Linked DNA regions of Homo sapiens: all the other regions are linked to region 6. Evidence: promoter capture Hi-C in 16 types of primary human blood cells and fetal thymus (Javierre and others, 2016). All regions are on one chromosome and are shown on one strand. Each heading gives the region's core, a stretch centred on a gene start or on the middle of the fragment in contact. The rest is flanking DNA. Distances are from core to core; before and after follow the strand shown. Region 1 has its middle 7.1 kb from the start of NUP153-AS1. Region 2 has its middle 33 kb from the start of MIR548A1HG. Region 3 overlaps FAM8A1 (family with sequence similarity 8 member A1). Region 4 overlaps LOC102724591 (a long non-coding RNA gene). Region 5 overlaps NUP153 (nucleoporin 153). Region 6 holds the start of KIF13A (kinesin family member 13A).

Region 1 (4,483 bases), core at 1,163-3,662, 270 kb before region 6:
ACCAGCCTGGCCAACGTGGCAAAACCCCGTCTCTACTAAAAAAATTAAAAAATTAGCCGAGTGTGGTGGCACATGCCTGTAATCCCAGCTACTTGGGAGGCTGAGACAGAAGAATCGCTTGAACTTGGGAGGCAGAGGTTGCAGTGAGCCGAGATCATGCTACGGTACTGCAGCCTGGGCAACTGAGCCAGACTCTGTCTCAAAAAAAAAAAAAAAAACCTACACGTAAATTCTAAACACATGCTGTTGAATCTATCTCATACAAGAAATCAGGGGCGGGCACGGTGGCTCATGCCTGTAATCTCAGCACTTTGGGAGGCCAAGGCAGGCGGATCACGAGGTCAGGAGATCAAGACCATCCTGGCTAACATGGTGAAACCACCGTCTCTACTAAAAATACAAAAAAAAAAAATTAGCCGGGCGCGGTGGTGGGCGCCTGTAATCCCAGCTACTCGGGAGGCTGAGGCAGGAGAATGGCATGAACCTGGGAGGCGGAGCTTTCAGTGAGCGGAGATCATGCCACTGCACTCCAGCCTGGGCGACAGAGCGAGACTCCATCTCAAAAAAAAAGAAAAAAGAAAAAAAAGAAATCAATTGGTTTAGTTTTATTTATTAACATAATTCATCAGTTACATTACGAAACTGGACTTATTAAGGTTGCAGTCTGTAAAACTATAACCTTTGCAAACCTTAGTTTGCTAATACTAAGCTTCTTTATTTTTTAAAAGCATTTGTAGAGAATGCTCAAGTTTATCAGACCCTAACTTATTAAGGCATTCCTTTTCAAAAGCATGCAAACCAGTTAACATGCAAACAACCCTCACATACATATCACCCCACCACCATCAGACAAGCATGAACTACCCAGTTTAAACAAACAGTGACTTTTGGCCTCTTGCTGCTACTCTGACCAGCAAGCACCAGCTGCAGCCCCCGGGAGCTTGTTAGAATAAAGCAGCTCTGCCCATCCCAAGCCAACACAATCAGAATCTACATTTTAACAAGATCACCAGGTGAACTGTATTACATTCTAGGAGCATTGTTTCAAAACCATGCCACCAGAAGTTATTAATCTGAAGTTAGATTAACTTTGAAGGCAAGACAATGAGGTACCTGAAGTTCCCGTAAAGAGCAGGCTTAGGAACTTCTGTTCCTTACTAATCTACAACAATCAACAATTTAAGAATTGATGAACCAACAGCTTATACAACATGTAGTTTTTTTTCCTCTTCTTTATCATTCTGTACCTTTCTCCTTTACCACAAAGTGAGCAGAAATGGAATGAACCATTTTTTAATTATTCTTTCATTAACTTTTTTTTTCCAAAGGAAAAAGGTAATCTAGCAGAAGTTATTAACATCTGAAATGTTAAGGGTCTAAAACTGAGCATTAGTTATGAAATATACTTAAGCATAGATATTTCAAGAACCCCTTGCTAATTCCCATGTATCCTTTTCTTATACAAATTTTCTTTTAGTCACTGCTGGTTGTTTGGTTGGTTGCAAAAGAAAAAGAAAAATTTTATTTTAGAACTAATTCATGAAAAAAAAAAATGGATGTAAAGTAAACCCTAATCCAAGAAGCTATGAGCAGAGATAAATTCCTAAAAGAAATATCAGGCTACTTTCTTAGAATTGCGATGACTTTTCTCATTCCGTTGTAGTCACAAAATCATTTTTAAGGTAGAAAAGCAAGCGGGCACTCTAGGAGGGAATATTCTTAGGCTTGGATTGGCATCTAATATATCTGGAATGCTAGATGAGAATTCAGGCAACTTGGAATAAACTGTAATTTTTCTAAACTGTAAAGGCAGGAATGGTAGCAGCTTTCTACTTGACAAATCATAAAAACAATTAGATTACCTACCTCTAGTAGCTTGACCTCTTTTTTTTTTTTTTTTTTTCAGACGGAGTCTGCCTCTGTCGTCCAGGCTGGAGTGCTGGAGTGCAGTGGCACGATCTCGGCTCACTGCAAGCTCCGCCTCCCGGGTTCACGCCATTCTTCTGCCTCAGCCTCCCGAGTAGCTGGGACTACAGGTGCCCGCCACTATGGCTGGCTAATTTTTTGTATTTTTTTTTTTTTAGTAGAGACGGGGTTTCACTGTGTTAGCCAGGATGGTCTCGATCTCCTGACCTCGTGATCCGCCTGCCTTGGCCTCCCAGAGTGCTGGGATTACAGGCGTGAGCCACCGTGCCCGGCCATAGCTTGACCTCTTAAATAGCTGCTATGAAGCTAAGACAATAATTGGACATAGTATTTTCTCCAAACATTACTTCTGGAAAAGTTCAATTTGATAACAATAATGGATATGTTAGTCTAAAAGTTTCCAGAAGAAGTCATCACAACATGCCTATTGTTCTTAACTCCTGCAATAGAGAAGGCCTAAAAAGCTGTGCAATACAAAAGGTGAAAAATCATATTTAAAAACTTACATACATCACCCCTTGTGTAGGCCAAATAGAAGCATGTTTGCTCATGTGAACAGTTAAACATCAAGGGCAGATAATGAGGTCACTGAAGTTCCTGTAAAGAGCAGGCTTAGGAATTTCTGTTCCTTGCTCATCTACAACAACCAACAATTTAAGTAAGAATTGATGAGCCAGCAGCTTATTGATCATGTAGATTTTTTTTTTCCTTTTACCATTCAGTAACTTTCACTTTTACCACAAAGTGAGCAGAAATGAGATGAACCATTTTTTAATTGTTATTTTCATTAGCTTCTATTTCCAAAGGAAGCTAGGCTACTAGCTGAAATGAAAATCTGGATTTAGCACATCCTTATTCTGTATCATCACAGGTAGCAGAGTTGATTTAACAGAGCAATTACACAAGCATAATGGTTAGTTAAGATGATTTTAAGCCAATATCTATAATCCATGGCCAGTGGCCTCAATGTAGCTTACCTTGTTTGGATCCATTATAATGACAGTAGGATATCATGAGCTACCAAAAGTAGGCTTCTTTAAAACCAAAAAAAAAAAAAAAAAAAAAAACCCAATAAAAAGAACTCTTCAAATATTCTCCAAAGCAAAGATGAGTGAGGTTATATCATTCTACATTTAGTATTAAAAAGGCAGTATCACCAAACAAATTGAAGGCAACTTTGCAGACGTTGAGCAAAACCTACTTAAACAACCACCCCCAACTACAGAAAACTCTCCCCCTCTCCCCATGAAGGTGTAGCTTCCACTATGTACCCATACAATGTGTAGAATAAAAGCATCAAAGCAGACCATAGGCCTCCAAGAAGGCCACAACCAAGCAACAAAGAGCATCAACTAGCCACAGTTAAACCCAAGCCATAACTTAAATGCTTTCAATTAGTAACAGTTACATTTTCTTTTTCACTTGTTTGGTCATAAAATCTTGCCCCTTCAATGAGTCAGCAGTGACTCATAAGCACTTCCTACAAGAAGCACCCGCTTTTAGGCCCATCCCTTCCAGCCGAAGTGCTGAGACCCAGGATTGATTTTAGCTTCATCCTTGCTGATGCTTGAGTTTAATCACTTGTCTCTCTCATACTGGATATCCATGTTGGCCAGCAGTTACTCTGCAAAGTAGTGGTCTGCTGCTGTGCAGTGAGGAGGCAAATCCACAAAGGGGCACCAGGAGTAGTAGACAATTGGGAAGGAAATGCCATTTTTCTCTCTTCGCTCTTGTCCACTATAGCTCTGCCTCTTTGACTCCTCATCATAAGGTCCCAGCCTTTACAACTATGCCTCCTCCTGTACCAGCAGAGTCTCCTCTCAAGGTTTGGTTTTGGTTTACAAACAAAGAGGAACTGACTTTTTGCCTACACCACTAACTTTAGAACACGGTCCTTTGAAAAGTATCCAAAACTGAGGTCGGGAGTTCGAGACCAGCCAGACCAACATGGAGAAACCTCGTCTCTGCTAAAAATACCAAATTAGCCGGGTGTGGTGGCATATGCCTGTAATCACAGCTACTCGGGAGGTTGAGGCAGGAGAATTCCTTGAACCCAGGAGGCGGAGGTTGTGGTAAGCTGAGATCGCACCAATTGCACTCCAACCTGGGCAAAAAGAGCAAAACTCTGTCTCAAAAAAAAAAAGAAAATCCAAAACTGAGATGGAGGGGAAAAAACGCGACAGTTCTGAGAAGCTTTCTGCCTTAATTTCTTTCTTTCTTTCTTTCTTCTTTATTATTATTATTATTTTTTTTTGAGATCGTGTCTTGCTCTGTTGCCCGGGCTAGAGTGCAGTGGTGAGATCTCCGCTCACTGCAACCTCCGCCTCCATAGTTCAAGTGATTCTCCTGCCTCAGCCTCCCAAGTAGCTGGGACTACAGGCACCTGCCACCAAACCCGGCTAATTTTTATATTTTTTAGTAGGAATTGGGATATCCTAATTTCAAGTTAATGAAAAGAACAAGAAAAGTGCAGTGGTTAGTTTTACATGAGATCCAAACAAAACAGGTCAGATCACTTGTTTCAATTTCTCCAGCAATTTTCCACTGAAAACTTCCT
Region 2 (4,292 bases), core at 928-3,427, 500 kb after region 6:
GTCCTTGCAGGTGGGAATAGGCTAAGGCTGGCATAATTGTATAGAACTCACAGCAGACCTAGAAAGGTAAGTCATCATTTAGTAAATGGCTTTGTCCTTCCATTTGATAGATTTCACACAGGAATCTTTAACCTAGGAAGTATCGTACCCAAGGGGGTTCATGGGAGGTTCCCAGGAAGCCCACTGATTACTGAAATTGCATGTAAAGTTGTATGGTGATGTATTTTTCTGGGAGGAGGGTACACCATTTCTAGGGGGCTGTGACACTAAAAAGATTAACAGTATTCAATGAGAACACTTATCATTTACCTTCTGCTCGACCATAAAGTGTATTGTTTTGTAATATTGTAGTATTTTTTGTAATTTTGTAATATTGTAGTATTTTTGTGTAATATTGGACTTGACACATTCTTTTTGTTGATTTTTATTAAAAGGAGAAATTTCATTTTGTCCTACACATAGTGAATTTTAAATTATTTTTAGGTATAGTTGACATTTCCGAGCTTAGGCCTGGGGCACTTCTCTTACTGAAAAACCTATGTCACTCAGAAGCCCAGAGAAAATATTAATTAATTTCCAATTTACTTGGAGGCAGGATGAAAATAATAGGTTGGTCTCTCCTTCTGACCACCCAAGATGCCAGCCACCCTGAATGCTTTTTCTTGTCCCTTCATGTTTTGGATCCAAACTAGCTAAATCAGGATCTTTTAGAGGTTTTCTCTAAATAAGCTAGCAAGCATTTACCTGTTTGAAACAAAACCCACAGACCTGCTTGCCTAATTTTGGCAACCAAAACCCTGTGGCTGTGAGCAAGTTTGCCTCCGTTTTGATCCATGATGTGTATGACAATATATTTTTTGGCTGTTCTAAAGCAGACTGCCAATTAGATCCAAATGTGTCAGACAGACTCAGAGAGGGTACTAGTGGCCAAGTTTCCATTAGTGGTTACTACTGATTGATGCCTGCAGCTTTCTGTTCATGTACAAATAGAAACCTATTCTCATCTTTGATCTTGGGGTTGGGAGTTGAGGTAATGAGGAGAAAGTCCCGGAACACAATTAAATCTCTTTGTATCTCTCAACTTGTAACTTTTGTTTTCCATTTAACACAGGAAAGACTCTGAATATTAGGAAGTTGTGATTCTCTTGTTCAGACTAGGGCATGCTTTTCATTTGCTCAGATACAGAAGGATATAGGGAGAAGGAAATAAACCATGTTTATGGAAACACAGCTCTGTGCCTGTAACGGTGTTAGATGCTTTCCCACGTGACCTCATCCAATTCCCTAACAACTCTAGAAAACGAGGATTCATATTCCACATACTCTTAAGGAAACTGCGTTTCAGAGGAGAGGGAGAAAAATACATTCTTCTGTGTTGCGCACATTGTAAGTGGCAAAACAAGTTGAAACAGGCAACTGTTGGCCTCAATGGCCTGTGGTATTTCCACTCCACGGTATAACAATGTAAGTGATTATGGTGTTAATCCTCCTGGTACTGCAAAAGAGCTTTATGAAAACCTTGAATGCACAATGGGAATGGGAACTATTCTGAACAGTTTATTTAGTCTAGAAGCTTACCTGTGAGTCATCATAGACCAATACAAAAAAAATCAGAAACCTAATTTCTAGATTTTAGCCTTTGCATTAATACTTAGAAATAAGCTGGTCTGTCTATCTATCTATCTATCTATCTATCTATCTATCTTAGTCTCTGCCTATAGTTTCTGAAACCAGAATCTTGTTCTGAGAAGTAAACTGTGCAAGGGGAAAGGATGAAGGAGAAAAAAAGCCAAGCGAACCTCTTTTCTTTGTAATGAGTCATATTGCCTGCACTTGGATTTTCACTGACACCAGCTAGGACAGTTTCTGCCCCTCCTCTCTCAAGGAAGACCTTAATGATGGTTCACAGGGCCTGAATCTTATCTGTGGTACCAATTAATTCTGGAAACTAAAAGTGTACTCATTTGAATTTATGTTTAAAATTTTTTTCTTTCTCCCTCCTATACTTATTTTCTAGGGAAGTAATTTGACATTTGGGTCTGCATTACACCAAAGTGAGTGAAAGATACTTTGCTACAGTTTTTCAGGGAAGGGAGGTTTATTTAGCTGTGGTAAATAGCCTAGAACAGAGGTTGGCAAACTTTTTCTGTAAAGTGCTGTATCGTAGGTACTTAAGGCTTTGTAGGCCATACGGTCTTTGTGGTTACAACCCAACTGTGCTGTTGTAGTGTGAAAGCAGCCAGTCAACACATAAATGAGTCAGTACGGTTGTGTTTCAATAAAACTTTATTTATGCAAACAAGAGAGGGGCCACATTTGGCCCCTGAGCTGCGGTTTGCCAAACTTTGGCCTAGAACATATCTCAGGTTTTTCTCTGTGTTTGACACCTACTGCCAAGCACATAGTAAGTGCTCAATAAATAATAAATGTTTTTAAATAACTGCACATGTAAAGGAACAATAGAACTCTTTCCAGACTTTATAACTAGCAACTATGTTATACATTAAGGAATGAGTTGGTAGGAGTAGAGTCAATCTACAGATAGAAGAATAAAGCATGAGAGGTTAGGGCCTCAAGAAGCTGCAGGCAAATTTTCATGTAGAATTCAAGCTCCCTGACTCTAATCAGTGGTGCATTTACTGAGCTCCTTTGGTGCATGCAAGTTTATATTATTTTACCATTTATTTTAAGGAAATCTATGTCTTTCAAAGAGAATAATATTAATTTCTGTTGCATCAGATAAGCTCCTCTGGGTTGCAAGAGATAGAAAACCCAGTTCAAACAAGCTTAAACAATACAGGGAAGTTGTTGGCTGATGAAACAGAAAAGTCTTGATATAGAGTAGGCTCCAGGCAAGCTTGACTCAGGCACCCAAAGTCACCAAGAATCCAGTTCCTTTCTGCCTCCTTGTTCTGCCTATCACTTGGTCATCTTCATTGTCAGATTCCACCCTATGGGGTGCTCCTTAAGGTTTTCTTGCTTGGGATGGTGGAATAGGGAAAATGAACTAAATCCTCCTCAAACTTTTGCTGACCTTGGCCAATTGAAGAAACAGAGCACAGATAAAAAATGGACTAACGTGTCCTGGCTGGTGAGTGGGAAGCCGAATGAAACTGGGCAAGTCAACTGAATATTTGGCAGTCCTGAAGACTGGGAACAGACCAGGGAGTAGATGCATTCTAGGGAGAGGAACATCTTTGGAGGTATGCAAGAGTCCAGCAAGTTTGCTTAGTCCAAAGTTGTTTAGAATCACTGGAGTATAAAGAGTAGGGGGGATGTAAGGATGGATGGACAGGTAGGAGAGGACCAAATCCTGAAGTGACTTGAAGAAATCAGCTTTTATCTCCAAGATAACTAGGGCATTGCTAAAGTTTGAGCAAGGTAGTGACGAGATGAAACTTACGTGTGAGAAAAATTATGTTGATAGTTTTGTGGAAGGAGGTTGAGGGAGAAGTAGGGAGAAAAGCAATGAACCTGATATAATTAACTGGATGTAGCATATGATGGTGGGTATGAACAAGAGAAGAAGAGTAAGAGAGCCATTTAGATAGAATGAACCTGCTGGATATGGGGGAGAGTGAATCAACCAGAATGATGCTGGTCTTCTATTTCAGGAGCTGTGTGCATGGTAAGGCCACAGATCATGACAAATAAATAACATTTCCCTGCATTTCCTTTTGAGGGCACGGACATGGGAATCTGGGGTGTCTTGTTTATTTTTCCAGATATGCTGAATGGGAAGAACCCGAATAAAGGTGACAGTCTCCAGACAGTATTCTAGTTGCTCAAGTCATGGTAGAGTCTATGCAAGGTCTGTAACCAGTTTATACCCATGGTCCATGGGTATACTGATGGTCTGAAGGATAAGTGAAGAGCCCAGGCCAGATAGAATTCAGACGTAGCCCCAGAGGCCCTGGCTACTCAGTCTTTTCAAATACTACTGGGTGGAAACCACTGTGAGGGAAACTTTTCTGTCTAACCTTTTTTGGCTTCTGTTGCTAATGGAACATATTCTAGGCATCAAAGCCATTGTCAGTTCTGAAGGAGAAAAATGCCTCTCTTCGGCTTTTGTAAATATCCTGGCTGGGGGATTCACCATATGCAAATGCCTTAGGCATCCTGGCGGTGAGGGCACAGAACACTGTGTCCATCTGTGACTCAGCCAGGCCCCACAAAGAGCAATCACCAAACCCGCAGAGGGAGAAGGAGAATTGGAAGGAGCCTCGGCATTGTTCTGGCCATGGGAACGTATGTTGGGAATATTGTTCCAGCCACTGCAAAAGGGCTCCCAG
Region 3 (4,104 bases), core at 317-2,816, 380 kb before region 6:
AATAATCAACTAGATGGCATTTCCAAATGGGATTGCACATACTGTGGGGCAAGTCCCAAGTGAACTTCAAAGTGAGACGTTTATTTGAGTAATCCTTCCAGATTAACAATAATCATAATAGCAGTTACCACTTCCTGAGTACTTTCTATATGCCATGTATTGAGCTTGCTCACTTCTTTATGTGGATTCTTATTTAATCTTAATACCAAGATGAGGTGTAGAGATTAATACCACCATTTTATAGAGTTTGAAATTTGGGTTTATGAAAAGTTGAGCACAGAACCTAAAATGTTACAAAGGTAGTAAGTGACAGAGTCAAGATACAAGCCTGTGCAGTCAAATTTCAGGGTCCTTGCCAGAAACCTGTTACTGTGATTCCTCCCTGTCCCTCCCTCTCACTCCACTCCACATCCAGTGAAATACCAACTCCTTTATGTTCAATTTTCTGAATAGCTTTCAACCCCAGACCTCCTCACTGCCAGATCATTTTTCTTTTTTTGAGACAGAGTCTTGCTCTGTCACCCAGGCTGGAGTGCAGTAGTACAATTATGGCTCACTGCAGCCTTGATCTCCTGTGCCCAAGTGACACTCCCACCTCAGCCTCACAAGGAGCTGGGACCACAGGCATGCTCCACCATGCCTAGCTAATTAAAAAAAAAAATTGTTTTTTGTAGAGATGGGGTCTCCCTATGTTGCCCAGGCTGGTCTCAAACTCCTGGGCTCAAATGATCCTCCTGCCTTAGCTTCCCAAAGTGCTGAGATTACAAGCATGAGCCACCACACCTGGCCCATTTTTTATCATCATTGCTTCTCCCTACTCCGATTACTGTCGTCTCTTGCTTGGATTATAGCAGAAGCCTTCTAGTGGTAACTCAGTCTCCTGTTTTATCTCAATCCAGTCTCTGATATAAAACCAAAGTGATCATAAATCCTGGTTCTGTTCCTTTCCTACCTTAAAACCCTTCAATGGTTTCTCTTTTTAAAATGTTTATTGTTTTTTTAGAGATGGGGTCTGTGTTGCCCAGGTTGCTTTCAAAATCCTAGGCTCAGGCGATCCTCCCACCTCAGCCTCCCAAAGTGCTGGGATTACATGCGTGAGCCACCATGCTCAGCCCCTTCAATGGTTTCTCTTTACCAGCAGGATAAAGTCTGAATTTCATCATGTGGTTTATACTCAGGAGGCTGTCTCAACCTCCCAAGTAGGTGGGACTGCAGGTGCATACCACCACACCCTGCCTTTATTTCTTAATCACTGCCACCTCTCACATTTAGTATATGAGCCACACCAAACTGCTTACAGCTTCTATCATATTCTCTCTTTCTCCAAGACATTCTCTCCTGCTGTTCCCTCTTTCTGGAACGTTATTTCCTCTTCTTAGTCTGGCTAACTTCTCTTCATCCTTCAGAGCCTCATCTAACTGTCTTTTCTGGGAAACCTTCACAAGGTTAAGTGTATCTGGTGTATGTTTCCATAGTATCCTAGGTTCCCCATCACAGCACTCATCCCACTTTATTATTGCTATTTATTTATTGTTCTGTTTTCTTTGCTAGGTTAGACCCTCCACGAAAGCAGGGACCGTGTAAATTCATTCACCCTTATTTCCCCCGTGCTAGTACAGTGTCTGCTCATGATAATGCTGCTTATTTGTTGAATAAACTAATGAATGCTTTATGATACTAGATGGTTGGGAATCTAAAGATTAGTTTAGAATTTCAATTAAAATGTATGACTTGCACTAATGAAAAAAAAGTCAGTGCTACTGTTCTGGTAACTAATTATTTATAACCCCAAACTATTATTTTGTGTAGGGATATCTCTAAGTTTGCTATGCATTATATAATAGAAGAAATAGATGAAGACACATCAATGGAAGACTTGCAGAAAATGATGGTTGTGGCACTTATATACAGATTATTAGTTTGTTTCTATGAGGTAAGCTACTGACTTCAGCAAGAATTAATATTTAACAATCTAATTTTATGTTTTTACATTTATTTTTTTGAGACAGAGTCTCGCTCTGTCACCCAGGCTGGAGTGCAGTGGTGTGATCTTGGCTCACTGCAACCTCTGCCTCCTGAGTTCAAGTGATTCTCCTGTCTCAGCCTCCTGAGTAGGTGGGACTACAGGTGCATACCACCACACCTGGCTAATTTTTGTATTTTTAGTAGAGACAGGGTTTTGCCATGTAGGCCAGGCTGGTCTCAAACTCCTGGCCTCAGTGATCTGCCCACCTTGGCCTCCCAAAGTGCTGGGATTACAGGCATGAGCCACTGCACCTAGCCAACAATCTAATTTTAGATTATCAGCCCAAGACGAAAAAGTAATCGAAATTTATAATTATTCATGTCTTTTCCACATGTCTACTTTTCTGTTTTTTTTCCCAAATTTTAACTAATCATTAAGTAAAAACTTTTGGAAGAGAGACATTTTACAATTTCTTTGTAATATTTTTCAGTCTTAGAAACTCAAATAAAATTTCACTTATAGATTGTGGTCCAAAAATATACTTGTAAATTGCAATGTAGTTTTCTGCAGAAGCAGCTTACTAGAAAGTATAGTAGTCATAGAGAAATATTACAGGAGACAGACATCTTGTGGTATTGGACATGTTAGAGACCTACAGAAATGCATAAAGTTAAATGGTTAACTTTTGAGTATTCTATGCAATTCTTTCAACTTGAAAAATTTAAAACATGAAATAATATGGTGGGAAAAGTTTATCTTTAAAATTGGTATAGTTGAGCCAGTAATTTTTAAATCATCCTTCTTTCCTTAGATAATTTGCATTTGGGGAGCAGGTGGAGCTACCCCAGGGAAGTTCCTGCTGGGGCTTCGAGTTGTGACATGTGATACATCAGTGCTTATTGCACCAAGTCGGGTTTTAGTGATTCCTTCCTCAAATGTTAGCATTACAACGTAAGTCCTTTTCTTAGCTTAATCTACTACATACTTAATGAAAATAATGTGTTTTAGAATATTGGGGTTTTTTTCTTCATAGTAGATAGGCTTATATTTATTAAGTTAAAACAAAGTTTGAATATTTATTTCAGTTGTGTTACATGATTGTAGACCTCTTTTACAGTACACATTTTCAAGATGATTTTTTTTTTTTTTTTTTTGTGAGACGGAGTCTCACTCTGTTGCCCAGGCTGGAGTGCAGTGGCACAGTCTCGGCTCACTGCAGGCTCCGCCTCCCAGGTTCACGCCATTCTCCTGCCTCAGCCTCCCGAGTAGGTGGGACTACAGGTGCCCGCCACCACGCCCGGCTAATTTTTTGTATTTTTAGTAGGGACGGGGTTTCACCGTGTTAACCAGGATGGTCTTGATCTCCTGACCTCATGATCCACCCGCCTCCGCCTCTCAAAGTGTTGGGATTACAGACGTGAGCCACCATGCCCTGCCTCAAGATGATCATTTTATGAATTATAAGTCACAATACGAGAGGATGATTTGGGTGTTGATGGTGTATTAGTGCTCCACAATCAGCTTTATTATTCTTTGGACCTGTGGATGTTAGGTCAGGTACTAGTCTGCCTTGAGTCTCCATTTGGCCATGCCTGTCATTATTCCATCTTGAATAGGCAGCAGAGTTTTGACAGCTATGCATTCGTGCATCCTTCTCCTGCTGTTAGGTGAGAGCTTGTAATACTGCCAGTATTCAAGGTTAGCTGTTGGCATCTAGCGCTGGGGGAAGGTACAACCAGTGATAATGGAAACTGTGGAGGTCAGTGGCTGGTAGTCAGTTGAGCCAAACAAGGTATTGGCTGCAATTTTTGCCAGAATGATTCAGAGCTGGATTGTTACATCAAGAAATATAAACAAGTGATTCTAGAAACCTTGGTTTTGCCATCTTCAAATTTTTCTTAAAATTTGGTAGTTATAGCCGGGCACAGTGGCTCACGCCTGTAATCCCAGCACTTTGTGAGGCTGAGGTGGGCAGATCACGAGGTCAGGAGATCGAGACCATCCTGGCTAACATGGTGAAACCCCGTCTCTACTAAAAATACAAAAAATTAGCCGGGCGTGGTGGCGGGCCCTGTAGTCCCAGCTACTCAGGAGGCTGAGGCAGGAGAATGGCATGAACCCGGGAGGCAGAGCTTGCA
Region 4 (4,013 bases), core at 353-2,852, 400 kb before region 6:
AATATTTTCTTATAATAGAAAATGTTTTCAAGCAGATGACAAATTTCTTAATGCTTTTGAACAACCATTAGGGGGCAGAAAATCATTACACAGTATAGCAATTCAATCCACGTTAGGCTGGAGAAGAGAAAGCCTATTTTATGTGTATTTCCAAAAGTTAGTACCAAAATCAAGTTATTTTTCAGTGTAATCATTGATTTGGTGCTTGGGTATCTTATTTACAAAAGAAGCCTTCCGTAGTGGCTTTATTTTTTACAACTTGCTTCCTATCAGTGTATCAAATCAGATGAACCTTACTCTGAAGGAAACACTTTAGAGACCAATGTGACATCTTGGGGCAGGGTTGCCATATATGACTAGTAAGAATAGTTGAAATATGTTGATAAACTAAAAGTAAGTTTATCTCACTAAAAATTAGAGAAATTCATAACAAAACAATAGATTTATGGCTGCCCAAGTTTCAGGAACTCTCTTTTCAGTCACCCTATCAAACGATGGGTTCAAGCGTGGTTAAAAATAGTTCGCTACTTCTTTAACAGCTTCTCTTCCCCCAAAAAACAACTCCTTAAAGATTAGAATGCAATTATTTCTACTTCTCACTTCCATTCCCCCATCAGCCAGCCTTTCACCTCTCACCCCATGAAACTTCCCAATGAATGCCACCCTTGACTTCCTAATGGCCGAATCCAGGTTCTCTAATTGGAAGGATGATAAACAAGCACTTGCTAATTTAAGTTTAAGAGAAATTTATTAAAAGTATATCACAAGCTGGATACAGTGGCTCACGCCTGTAATCCCAACACTTTGGGAGGCTGAGGTGGGTGGATCGCTTAAGCCCGGGAGGTCGACACCAAACTGGCCAAAATGGAGAAACTCCGTCTCTACAAAAAAAACACACAAAAATATAGCCAGGCATAGTGGCACTTACCTGTAATCCCAGACACTTGAGAGGCTGAGGTGGGAGGATCACCGGAGCCTGGGGAGGTCAAAGTTGCAGTGAGCCATGATCATGCCACTGCACTCCAACCTGGGAAGCAGAGCGAGACCCCATCTCAAAAAATAAAATAATAGGCCAGGCATGGTGGCTCACGCCTGTAATCCCAGCACTTTGTGAGGCCAAGGCGGGCAGATCACGAGGTCAGGAGTTCGAGACCATCCTGGCCAACATGGTGAAACCCATCTCTACTAAAAATACAAAAATTACCCAGACGTTGTGGCAGGCGCCTGTAATCCCAGCTACTTGGGAGGCTGAGGCAGGAGAATCGCTTGAAACTGGAAGGCAGCGGTTGCAGTGAGCAGAGGTTGTGCCACTGCACTTCAGCCTGGGCAACAAGAGTGAAACTCCGCCTCAAAATCAATCAACCAATCACAGCTCCTGAAATTAAAGGAAGCATAGGTAGCAAGAGTTAATCAACACTCTTATCAGATAAGGGCCCTCTGCTGGCACTACATTTATTCCATCCTTGGATCACTTGGCTCAAGTTTCCAAGTCCTCATAAGTCAGTCCAATCTGCTGAGCTCGGGCCACATACCCACCTGGTGGCTTGGAGTGAGCAGTGCAGAATGCCCTGAGAGTCTTAGCACAGGTGCACACATTGGGGGAAGAGTTAAGTGGAAATTCTCTCTCTCCAAAAGAAGGGGGGAAAAAAGAGGTAGTGTGGTCAAAAGAGAAAATGTCCACCACAGTTTTCATCCTTCCTGATTTCTTTGTGGTTTTCACACCAGATGTAACTCCTGTGATGGTTAATTCTATGTGTCAACATGACTGGCCAAGGGGCACCCAGATTAAACGTTGTGTCTGAGTGTGTCTGCGAGGGTGTTTCCAGATGAGGTTAGCATTTGAATTGGTGAATTCAGTAAAGCAGGTTGGCCGCCTCAATGTGTGTGGGCATCATCCAATCTGTTGGGAGCCTGAACAGAACAAGAAGTGGAGGAAGGAGGAATTCTTCCATTTTTTGTTTCCTGCTTGCCTGCTTGAGCTGGTACATTGGTCTTCTGACCTTGGACTGGGAATCACACCCATATATATACACATATACATACACATGCACACCCATATATATATATATACATACGCACACCCATATATTTACACATATACATATGCACACCCATATATATACACATATACATACACACGCACACCCATATATATACACATACGCACACCCATATATATACACATATACATACACACCCATATATACACATACACACGCACACCCATATATATACACATACACGCACACCCATATATATACACATACACGCACACCCATATATATACACATACGCACACCTATATATACACATATACATACACGCACACCCATATATATACACATATACATACACACGCACACCCATATATACACATATACATACACACGCACACCCATATATACACACACACGCACACTCATATACACACACATACACACGCACACCCATATATATACGTATATACATACACACGCACACCCATATATATACACATATACATACACATGCACACCCATATATATACATATACACACTCGCACACCCATATATATACACATATACATACGCACACCCATATATACACATATACATACACTCGCACACCCATATATACACACATATACATACACACGCACACCCATATATATACACACATACACACGCACACCCATATATATACACATATACATACACGCACACCCATATACACACACACACACACACACACACACTGTATTGGTTCTGGTTCTCTGGAAAACCCTAACATGACTCCTTTCTTATGGAAAGTCTCTCTTCCCACTCAATCCTACTTTCCTACCGACCTCACTAACTATTCCTTCTCCATCTCTGTTTTTTTTTCTCTGTTCTTGGCTTTCTTTTCTTGTTTCATTGTTTTCCATCTACTTGTCATTTCAAGGGCCATCTGTATGCCTATGACTCTCTCAATCTGTATTCTTTTTTATTTTAAAACTTTTTTTGCTTTTGCTTTTTTTCTCTTCTTTATTTCTGAATGATCAATCTGTATCTTTACAGATGCAACATATTCAACAGCTGGTGTCCCTTGGATGGCCCACCAGCACCCCACTGCCCCACTTCCACCCTCTTGCTCTCCCTTCCTCTGCCTTCTTCATTTCCATGAACGGCATCACAATCCACTCACCCAGTCATCCAAGCCACAGACTCTCTCCAAATACATTCAGTCATCAAATTCTGCAGACTGAGGCATGGTGAGGCAGTTCACCCCTGTAATTCCAGCATTTTGGAAGGCTGAGGTGGGTGGGTCGCTTGAGCCTAGGACTTTGAGACCAGCCTGGGCAAAATAGGGAGACCCTGACTCTTAAAAAAAAGAAAACAGTCTGCAGATTGTGCTTCCTTAATTTCACTCAAATGTCTCCTCTCCTTTATATTCCCATTGCTATTGTCTTGCTTCAAGTTCTCTTCATCTTATCTAGGGTGTAGTCTCCCAACCGGAGTCCACATCTTCAATTTTACACCATTTCAATCCATCTTCCACACTGTTCCCAGAGAGAGATTTCTGAAAAAACAAATATGACCAGATTTATCTCCCTCGTTAAAGCCCTTTATAACTTCTGCTGTCTACAGGATAAAGTGCAAACTCCCTCACATGGGACCAAAGCCCTATATAAACCAACCCCTCCCTACTTTTCCAGATTTGTCTCTATTCAGATCTACCTCACACCGTAAGTATCAGCTTGGCTATTTCCGTGAACTTTGCCCATGTTGCCCTTCCCCTGAAATCGGCTTCCCTCCGATGTTCTCTCTGTCTCTCTTTTTTTTTTTTAAATTAGAGATGGGGTCTTGCTCTGTCACCCAGGCCGGAGTGTAGTGGTGTGACCATAGCTCACTGTAACTTCAGACTCCTGGGTTCAAGCAATCCACCTGCCTCTGCTTCTCAAGTAGCTAGGACTACAGCTGTGTACCACTCCACTAGCTAATTTGTTAAAAAATTTTCATAGAGATGGGGTCATGCTATGTTGCCCTGACTAGTC
Region 5 (4,347 bases), core at 939-3,438, 290 kb before region 6:
TGGTGGCACACTCCTGTAATCCCAGCTACTAGGAAGGCTGAGGCAGAAAAAACGCTTGAACCCAGGAGGCAGAGGTTGCAGTGAGCTGAGATCGTGCCACTGCACTCCAGCCTGTAATCCCAGCACTCCCAAAGTGCACCACCACCGCGCCTGGCCTAATACTTCTCTAGTAGAAATTTGCATGGCCTCTTTACTTTTTCAGGTCTTTGCTTATATAATAGGACACCCATCTCATTTTGCTTCCCAGCTTTATTTTTTATTAAAACTTTTTTTCTATATTTTTTTCAAAATTGGGTATCCCATTCCACCTACTTTATTGATAGCACTGAATCACCATATTATATGTTTATGCGTTACATATTATGTTTACTTGTTTCCTTGTCTTCCTAACTTAGAACATAAGCTCCAAGAAGGCAGGAACTTGTTCACTGCTGTATCCTCTGTATTTAATGCTTGACATGTGGTATGTGATCAGCAAGTATTGATTGAATGAAGAATAGTAATGTTTGCCTTTACCTCCATGAGTTAGTATAGATTCTAAAATATTCACCAGGATAAAGACCCTTTTCTGGTCCATTTATGTACTGTTTTACAGAGATGAAGGTTGGGATAAAGAAATAAAGGATAGGAGCTGGGCCCGGTGGCTCACGCCTGTAATCCCAGCACTTCCGGAGGCCGACGCGGGCGGATTACCTGAGGTCAAGAGTTCAAGACCAGCCTGGCCAACATGGTGAAACCCTGTCTCTACAGAAATACAAAATTCAGCTGGGCATGATGGTGATGCCTGTAATCCTAGCTACTCAGGAGGCTGAGGGGGAAGAATCGCTTGAACCTGGGAGGCGGAGGTTGCAGTGAGCCAAGATCGCGCCATTGCACTCCAGCCTGGGTGACAGAGCAAGACTCCGTCTCACAAAAAAGAAAAGAAAAGAAAAAGAAATAAAGGATGGGGCTGGGGCCACGGTGGCTTACTCCTATAAGCCCAGCGCTTTGGGAGGCTGAAGAGGGAGAATCACGAGGTCAGAAGTTCAAGACCAGCCTGGCCAACATAGTGAAACCCCGTCTCTACTAAAAATAAAAAAAAAGTAGCCGGGCATGGTGGTGGGCACCTGTAGACCCAGCTACTTGGAAGGCTGAGGTAGGAGAATCGCTTGAACCCAGGACGCAGAGGTTGCAGTGAGCAGAGTTCACGCCACTGCACTCCAGCCTGAGCAACAAAGCGAGACTCTGTCTCAAGGAAAAAAAAAAAGAGAGAGTGGGAAGTACTATGGACTGAACGAACAAAAAGGTGCTAAGACCCAAATACAGGCGTGTCCTTGGATCATGCAATTCAAAGCTTCTGGTAACCTTATCAATAAATGCTAAATCTAGTAAAACTTAAAATAGCTTTAAATCTCACAAAATTCCCTTTAAATTGTGTGCATACCCATGTGTGACAATCTGTGTAATCTTTAGTTCTGTAGTTTATATATCTAGTCACTTATAAAAGGACTAAAACAGTGGTTCTCAAAGTGTAGTTCTCAGATCAGCAGCATTGGTGTAGCCTATGAGCTCATTAGAAAGGCAAATTTATTTTAATAAGCTCTTGAATTTGATTCTTCTGCAAATTAATGTTTGAGAACCACTATACTGAAACCATCAAAAACTCAGTGACCTGTTATTCTAATTAAGGCCTTGGTATACATAACCATGATTATAAGCTTAACTACAATAGAATTTTACCTAAAAGACCACCATTTTAATTAGTATCTTATTGTCTACCAAACACATATTTATAAACATATTTTTAATATCAACTCTGAAAAATCAATGAGAAGTTAACATAAAAGCCGACCTTCGAGTTGATTTCCACCGTTAAAGACTTACACAGAATATGTGTTTATGATGCACAGCCAACTATAAGACATTAGAAATTTTTAAAAAACTACTACGGAAAAGAAATATGCACAGTATTGGAAAGGAGACTATCAAGAGTTAACAGGGGGCTGGGCACGGTGGCTCACGCCTGTAATCCCAACACTTTAGGAGGCCAAGGTGGGCGGATCATGAGGTCAGGAGATCGAGACCATCCTGGCTAACACGGTGAAACCCTGTCTCTACTAAAAATACAAAAAATTAGCTGGACATGGTGGCGGGCACCTGTAGTCCCAGCTTCTCAGGAGGCTGAGGCAGGAGAATGGCGTGAACCCGGAAGGCGGAGCTTGCAGTGAGCTGAGATTGCACCACTGCACTCCAGCCTGGGTGACAGAGTGAGACTCCGTCTCAAAAAAAAAAACAGAAAAAGAAAATACTGGAACAATTTTTTGAAAATAAAATGAAGTTGATGTTCCAGTTGATCGTGCCATTGCACTCCAGCCTGGGTGACAAGAGTGAAACTGTCTCAAAACAAACAAACCAACCAACCCCAAAAAAGTTAAGGGACCCTGCCTACCAAACAGATCTGGAGAGGTACCTCCTTGACTGGCAGTTTTTTAAAAGAGTTTTGAAGTACTAAAGACTTCAGCCACTAACAAATAAGAGTAAAAAGAGTCTGACAAGAGGAAAAACGGTTTTCTTATGGAAGAAAAGGTTCCTTTGACCTTACTACCAAGGAAGGCCCAATGTAACCCACCTATGTTTTGAGGAGTTCTTGAGAGAAGAGTTCTTCAGGTCTTTACAGGAAATAAGCAGGCATGAGGGAAATAAGCTTTCTGTATGGACCTGAAAAGTGCTTTAAGATTTAAAAACAAGGCCAGGCACGGTGGCTCACGCCTGTAATCCCAGTACTTTGAGAGGCCGAGGCGGGTGGATCACAAGGTCAGGAGATCGAGACCATCCTGGCTAACACGGTGAAACCCCGTCTCTATTAAAAATATAAAAAATTAGCTGGGTGTGGTGGTGGATGCCTGTAGTCCCAGCTCCTCGGGAGGCTGAGGCAGGAGAATGGCGTGAACCCGGCAGGCGGAGCTTGCAGTGAGCCAAGATGGCGCCACTGCACTCCAACCTGGGCCACAGAGCAAGACTCCATCTCAAAAAAATAAAACAAATAAATAAAATCTTAAAAAACAGCCAGGTGCAGTAGCTTACGTCTGTAATCCCAGCACATTGGGAGGCCGAGGTGGGCAGATCACTTGAGGTCAGGAGTTTGAGACCAGCCTGACCAACATGGTGAAATACCATTTCTACTAAAACTACAAAAATTAGCTGGCAGGTGGTGTCCGCCTGTAATCCCAGCTACCCAGGAGGCTGAGGCAGGAGAATCACTTGAACCTGGGAGACGGAGGTTGCAGTGAGCCCAGATCACACCACTGCACTCCAGCCTGGGCTACAGAGCAAGACTCCGTCTCAAAAAAAAAAAAATTAATCTTAAAAAATACTCTGTGGCCCTAAAGCAAAGTCCACACTTCATAATCATAAATAATAAATTTAAGTTCAAGGATTAAAGGAGTGAATTTTAGAATGTGAACTGGCTAAATCCACTGGGTATTCTCTCTCCAAGAAAGAAGGGTTCTTCATTTGGCAAAACATGTCAAAAATGCCACTGAGATTTAGACTAATTAAAAATTCAATCTGGGGATTAGAATTCAATACTACATACATATCAGGAACATTCAACGTATAAGGTATTGTGAATACATTAGCTTTTCAAATTATATTTAACCTGAGTTGAAGGATTAATGAGCTGGGCGCAGTGGCTCATGCCTGTAATCCCAGCACTTTGGGAGGCTGAGGCAGACAGGTCACCTGAGGTCAGGAGTTCAAGACAAGCCTGGCCAACATGGCGAAACCCTGTCTCCATTAAAAAATGCAAAAATTAGCCAGGCGTGGTGGCAGGCACCTGTAATCCCAGCTACTTGAGAGGCTGAGGGAGGGAGAATTGCTTGAACCCAGGAGGCAGAGGTTGCAGTGAGCCGAGATCACATCACTGCACTCCAGCCTGGGCGACTGAGCGAGACTCCATCTCAAAAAAAAGGATTAATGAAAGGCAGCTGGGGTGGGGGCAGGCTACTCTATAACACTAACTCAGAAACAGCTGGGGTGGGGGAAGGCTATTCTATAACACTAACTCAGAAACAGCTGGGGTGGGGGAAGGCTATTCTATAACACTAACTCAGAACTCACTTGTAATTAACGACATTCTTTTCTTATAAACCTTTTCACAGGAATAACCAGAGGCATCTTTTCAGTATGGCCAACTCCTTGTCATTCCTATATATCCTTCCTTCCTTCTATACAAAGCTCTTTTCTTCCTACTAGTTTTCTTGACTTCAGTTCTGTTCAACTCCCTTTTCTTCACATTATCCTTAGCAGTGTTCAGATTATAAAATCTCCTTTCTCAAATAGTTTCACTGGATCTTTAACTATAAATAT
Region 6 (4,657 bases), core at 1,873-4,372:
CTTTTAGTCCTAGCTACACAGTCTTGGCTTTGGTTTTGTAAAATGGGGAAACAATGAAAGCTGACCCCATCTGTTTTTTTTTTTTTTCCCTGGACGTCAATGCATTCTCACTTGTTTTTACTGGTAAGACTGAAAACTTTCACCCACTAACCTTCAATTTCTATCCATGGCTAATTCATTGGTAATTTCTTGCAACTTTCAGAAAAACAGTAATTCTCAATTTGACACAGGTTTGCCAATATGCATTTAAAGACCTCTTACACTTCAAACCTTGGACTTGCAGATATGAAAAATAATAACATTCTCAGTATTCTACTCTTCACCTTTGCCCTGCCCTGAGCACTATCTAAAAACCAATGACAGAAATGAATTGCAAACATAGCATGAAGCACTGCTGCAATTAATCAACCCAGAGCCCAAGGGAGGAATTGTTTCTATTTTTAAATGCACTGTTACTTTAAGGGAAAAGTCTGTGGAGAAATATGAAACCAAGCTGCATAATGAAAATAAAAATGCATTTGGTGTCTTCATCTGTGCAAAGACAGTAATCCTAATGTACAAGGAGCACTGTTTTGTTGACTACTCAGTTTGTCTGTAAATGAAATGACCGGTACTCAAGACAGAATCCCACAGAAAGCTCATCTGCTATTCAAAGAATTAGATCCGTCAGAAGGACAAAACACGAGAGTACCCATATTTCAATGCTATTTTTATAACTCCAGATAAGGGACTATCGTAAGTAAGCAGATGAATAGATCCCAAAATCACCCTTCAAATCTTTACCTAAAAGATCCTGATTAGTAACTAACGTGGTTCAGCCCGAAAAATGATCAACTGATTACTTAGCATTTGGAACCAACTGTCCACAGTTATAGATTGTACCAAATCCCACAAAATCAAATCTGTTTCTCTTCACAAATGACAACACTTCATGTCATTAAACAGTAGCTAACAGTCGCACTGCTTATGGTTAAGAGTGACAAGGAGCAGGTGCCAAGCCAGCAAGGAAAACAAGTAACGGCTACACAACAGGAGCTAAAAAGTATTCTACCTGTTCCCCCAGACTGCTTTCAAGAATCTGACCCAACAGAATTTTTTCCCGAAACAATATGCAGTTTGCGGGGGGGTGGGGGGAGGGGACATTCGTTGGTGATATGGGCATCTAATTTAATCTGTAAATATTTAATGTACTCAATGAGTTTACTTACTATCACCATGAAATATGCTATACTATCTACACTGCTATAAATGCATCTAAAAATACATCCATTACTAGACAACATTCAGTACAATGTACAATAAACACTACATTCAGTGTTAAACACAACATTTTACATATAGCTTAGCTATTTAATATCACCACCAGAATCTGCTAAAGGTAGCAGAATGTTTGCAAACTGGATAAAAACTGCTATGCTCAACACGAAAAGCAAAGAATCCCCAATCTTATCGCCTCATGATTTCTTTCCCCAAATTTGGCAAAACTGAGCTTGAACACCACACATTATAGAATGGAGGCATTGCTTCTCTAAGCAATAATGTCACAAACCCTGCTTCAGAGTCTCTCTTCAGTGAAAATCTCTGAAGAAGGAAATTCACTAAATTGTATTCCATCGATCAACAGGTGATTCGTGGAAACACAAACTCATATTCATTTCCAATGAAAATTAATATTGTAAACTCTCCCGTTTTTTCACATATATATATTTACAAGCTACTGCATTATTATATTGAATGAATTCCAACCGATTTCTTCTCAGAGGCTTACTAGAAAAATGCCAAATATTCAAATTATTTTGGGGCGTTAACCCATACTGTTGCATGGAACAGAACGGAATTAATAAGGATCCAACAGTTACCACTTTTCAAATGCAAATATGTTGCCATCTAGTAAATACAGCCCCTTTTTAAACATCCCTCAGTGTCTATACAGTTCAGGGCCCTACTTTTGTTTCTTTGAAAATCAAAATTCGCGCATTACATTGAGGCATTATCTCAACTCAGCAACAACAACTAAAATAGATACTAACTAGTCCAGCCTGAGTCTACATCGTACAAGACTTTTGCTTTATTTTTTCCTCCCATTTTAGACACACTGTCCCTAAACAATTCTGCCAAAGGAAACAAACCCTGCAGTGATGAAAAGAATCACGGACACTGGGTTCCACGAACAATAAGGTCGTGGGCTGGTCACCTGCCCGCCTCGGGCCTCAGTTTTCCTGTCTGTAAAATGTGGCCGCTGGACGAATCACCTATGGGGTCCCATCCGGCCCTCTCCCTCCCGGGTGCCTCGCAGCCCGCCCGGGCTCAGCTGACTGGTGCTGTGGCCAGGGTGCCCTGCCTGCCGCCGCTCTAGATGGAGGAGAAGGGGGGCGAGGGAGGAGAGGAACTTGGACTTGCAACAGCTTCAAACAGGAGCCGGCGACAAACTTGAAGCCGTCCTCCTAACAATAGGAAAGAGCACTCCCATTTTCCTGGCTCAAACTTGCGGGACCCCGCGAGGCTGGATCCTCCCAGCCGCCCTCTCGGAACCCGCTTTACCTTTCTCCCTGTTTGGTGTTAGAAGGAGGAGGGTGCAGGACCGTTTGATTCCCTTCCATCTCCACCACGCACTTGGTGTTCAGTTCCAGTTCTGAAAGCAGAGAGAAAGGGACGTTGCAAAGTCCAGCATCCGCGCCTCCAGCCCGCCCGCCCGCCAGCCGCGCCGAGCGGGGCTCCGTCCCTGGAGGCGGCCGAGCCTGGAGACGGCGCCCCGGGCACCACGGCCAGCGCGGACGCCGCCTCCGCCCCGGCCCCCCGGCCCCGGCCGCGCTCTCGCCGTCCCGGCCCCGCAGTTTCTAAAGTTGCCCCCGCCCTCAGCCCGAGCAGAAATAAAAAAGAGCGGAAAGCTCCTCACCTCGTCGGTTCATGGGCCGGACCCGGACGGCAACTTTTACCTTGGTATCCGACATGTTGGCTGCGCTCGCCCGGCCGCTCGCCGCGCCCGCTCGGCCTTAGGCGGCCCCTCACGCGCGGCGCCGCCGCCGCTGCAGCCGCGCGCCCCTCGAGCGCGGCCGCCGCCGCTCCGCCGTGAGCTCCGAGAGGCAGCGCCGAGGCGCGCGGGCCATCCCGGGGGAGCGCGACGCGGGGCACGGCCGCGGCCCGGGGAGGGGCGGGCGCGCGGGGCGGGGCGCGGCGGCGGCGGCGGCGGCGGCGGGCGGGGAGGAGGCCTCGCCGGCGGGCCCAGGCGCAGCTCTAGCCGCGCCGCCCCAGCCGAGACCGCAGCGCCGCGGCCCCTCGCGGCTGCCCGGGGCCCCGCGCCGCCATGTTCCGCGCCCGTCACCCGCCGGGGCTCGGGAGAGGCCGGACACGGCCACGCGCGGCGCCCCCTGGAGCGGCGGGACGGCAGTGAGAGGAGCGGCGAGCAGCGCGGCGCTTAGGGGAGGCTGGAGTCCGGGGCGGGACGCATTGTTTCCCCAGGGGACCTCCCAGGCCAAGCCTGCACCGGCGCCCGCGGGGCCCCCCCCCGGACACCGCCGTGAGCTCGAGCCGCCTTCTGGGGCCGCTGCCACCCGGAGCCCCGGGACGGCAGCAAGGACCACGGCTCGCCGCGCTGGGTGCGCAGGCCTTCCCCTCCGAGTCCCGGCACGCCGCCCCCTCTGTCCCACACGGAGCCTGCAGCGGTATTTTAAGATCTCTGTGGTGAACCGAGACTAGAAATGAATCTGTGAATCCACCACCGAAACAGTGTATGTTTGTAAATAGTGCTCTCCCTTCCTTTCCCGGCCTCTCTTGTCTCGGGAGGGATGTCAAGTGGGCTGGGAGGGCCATTAACTCTTACATAAGAATTTAATAGCAATGGATTCTGTCATCCTGCCAAATGCAGACCTCGCTGCCAGGGCGGAACTGGGCGAATCCGATTTATTCTGTTTGGTTCAACAAGTGCTTAAGGGGCGCTCACCGAGTGCCAGGCATTTTGAAGCGTACAGAAGTCAAAAATCCAGAGTTTAGATCCAGGAATCTTTCGATTTTGCTTAAATCTAGAAATCCACTTATTGGAAGATGCATTGAGGTTTTACTGTGTGCAGGGTGCTGTTGAGGACACACAGAAACATGAATAGCATGATGCAGAGGCACACGCTAAGGTGGAAGAGAGGGCGTGGAGACTTATTATGCTAGACAGTGTACGGCAGGTGCTAGGAGAGGGGTCCGTCCGCCTCCAACCGAGGTGATGCTACGCTTGACCCTCGAACAACACGGGTTTGAACTGCACGAGTCCACTTACACGTGGCTTTTTTTCAACCAAAATCTGATTGAAAATACAGTATTCGTGCTCTGGCACAGTGCCTTACGCCTGTAATCCCAACACTTTGGGAGGCCGAGGCGGGAGGATCACTTGAGGCCAGGAGTTCGAGACCAGCCTGGGCAATGTAAAGAAACCCCATCTTGCCAAACATAAAAATTTAAAAAATAGCCGGGCATGGTGGCAGGTGCCTGTAGTCTTAGTTACTGGAGAGGCTGAGGTGGGAGGATCACTTGAGCCTGGAAGGTTGAGGCTGCAGTGAGCCATGTTCGCACCACTGCACTCCAGCCTAGGCAACAAAGCAAGACCCTGTCTCAAAAAAAAAAAGGGAGAAAAAAGAAAAGACAGTATTTGGCAGGTTCAAAACTGAGAGAT

What was found. The method cuts DNA at HindIII sites, captures the fragments that hold promoters and counts their contacts. A CHiCAGO score of 5 or more calls a contact.
Region 1: a contact is called between a fragment that was not itself captured here and the fragment with the promoter of KIF13A in region 6, in 2 of 17 cell types (monocytes and neutrophils). The highest score is 6.0, in monocytes.
Region 2: a fragment that was not itself captured here is called in contact with the fragment with the promoter of KIF13A in region 6 in 1 of 17 cell types (monocytes); the score reaches 5.3 in monocytes.
Region 3: a contact is called between a fragment that was not itself captured here and the fragment with the promoter of KIF13A in region 6, in 2 of 17 cell types (neutrophils and monocytes). The highest score is 7.7, in neutrophils.
Region 4: a contact is called between a fragment that was not itself captured here and the fragment with the promoter of KIF13A in region 6, in 1 of 17 cell types (neutrophils). The highest score is 6.7, in neutrophils.
Region 5: a contact is called between a fragment that was not itself captured here and the fragment with the promoter of KIF13A in region 6, in 2 of 17 cell types (neutrophils and naive B cells). The highest score is 5.4, in neutrophils.

Annotation. Positions count from the first base shown.
Region 1 is chr6:17,711,878-17,716,360 of GRCh38, forward strand. No RefSeq gene overlaps it. Among named protein-coding and RNA genes, the nearest start is that of NUP153-AS1, 7.1 kb to the left of the region's middle. The HindIII fragment of the contact is 3,410 bases long and covers 708-4,117 here.
Region 2 is chr6:18,487,253-18,491,544 of GRCh38, forward strand. No RefSeq gene overlaps it. Among named protein-coding and RNA genes, the nearest start is that of MIR548A1HG, 33 kb to the right of the region's middle. The HindIII fragment of the contact is 1,213 bases long and covers 1,572-2,784 here.
Region 3 is chr6:17,603,097-17,607,200 of GRCh38, forward strand. It overlaps FAM8A1 (family with sequence similarity 8 member A1), which reads left to right. Exons shown (of 5, transcript NM_016255.3): 3 at 1,810-1,933; 4 at 2,778-2,917. Among named protein-coding and RNA genes, the nearest start is that of FAM8A1, 4.8 kb to the left of the region's middle. The HindIII fragment of the contact is 6,133 bases long and covers 1-4,104 here.
Region 4 is chr6:17,584,513-17,588,525 of GRCh38, forward strand. It overlaps LOC102724591 (a long non-coding RNA gene), which reads right to left. Exons shown (of 5, transcript XR_007059485.1): 4 at 3,164-3,538; 5 at 1,279-1,375. Among named protein-coding and RNA genes, the nearest start is that of FAM8A1, 14 kb to the right of the region's middle. The HindIII fragment of the contact is 9,051 bases long and covers 1-4,013 here.
Region 5 is chr6:17,693,748-17,698,094 of GRCh38, forward strand. The region is part of intron 1 of NUP153 (nucleoporin 153); the gene reads right to left. Among named protein-coding and RNA genes, the nearest start is that of NUP153, 11 kb to the right of the region's middle. The HindIII fragment of the contact is 986 bases long and covers 1,696-2,681 here.
Region 6 is chr6:17,984,513-17,989,169 of GRCh38, forward strand. It overlaps KIF13A (kinesin family member 13A), which reads right to left and starts at 3,123. Exons shown (of 39, transcript NM_022113.6): 1 at 2,897-3,123; 2 at 2,542-2,632. The coding sequence starts at 2,951. RefSeq lists silencers at 2,709-2,828, 3,199-3,698. The HindIII fragment of the contact is 11,131 bases long and covers 1-4,657 here.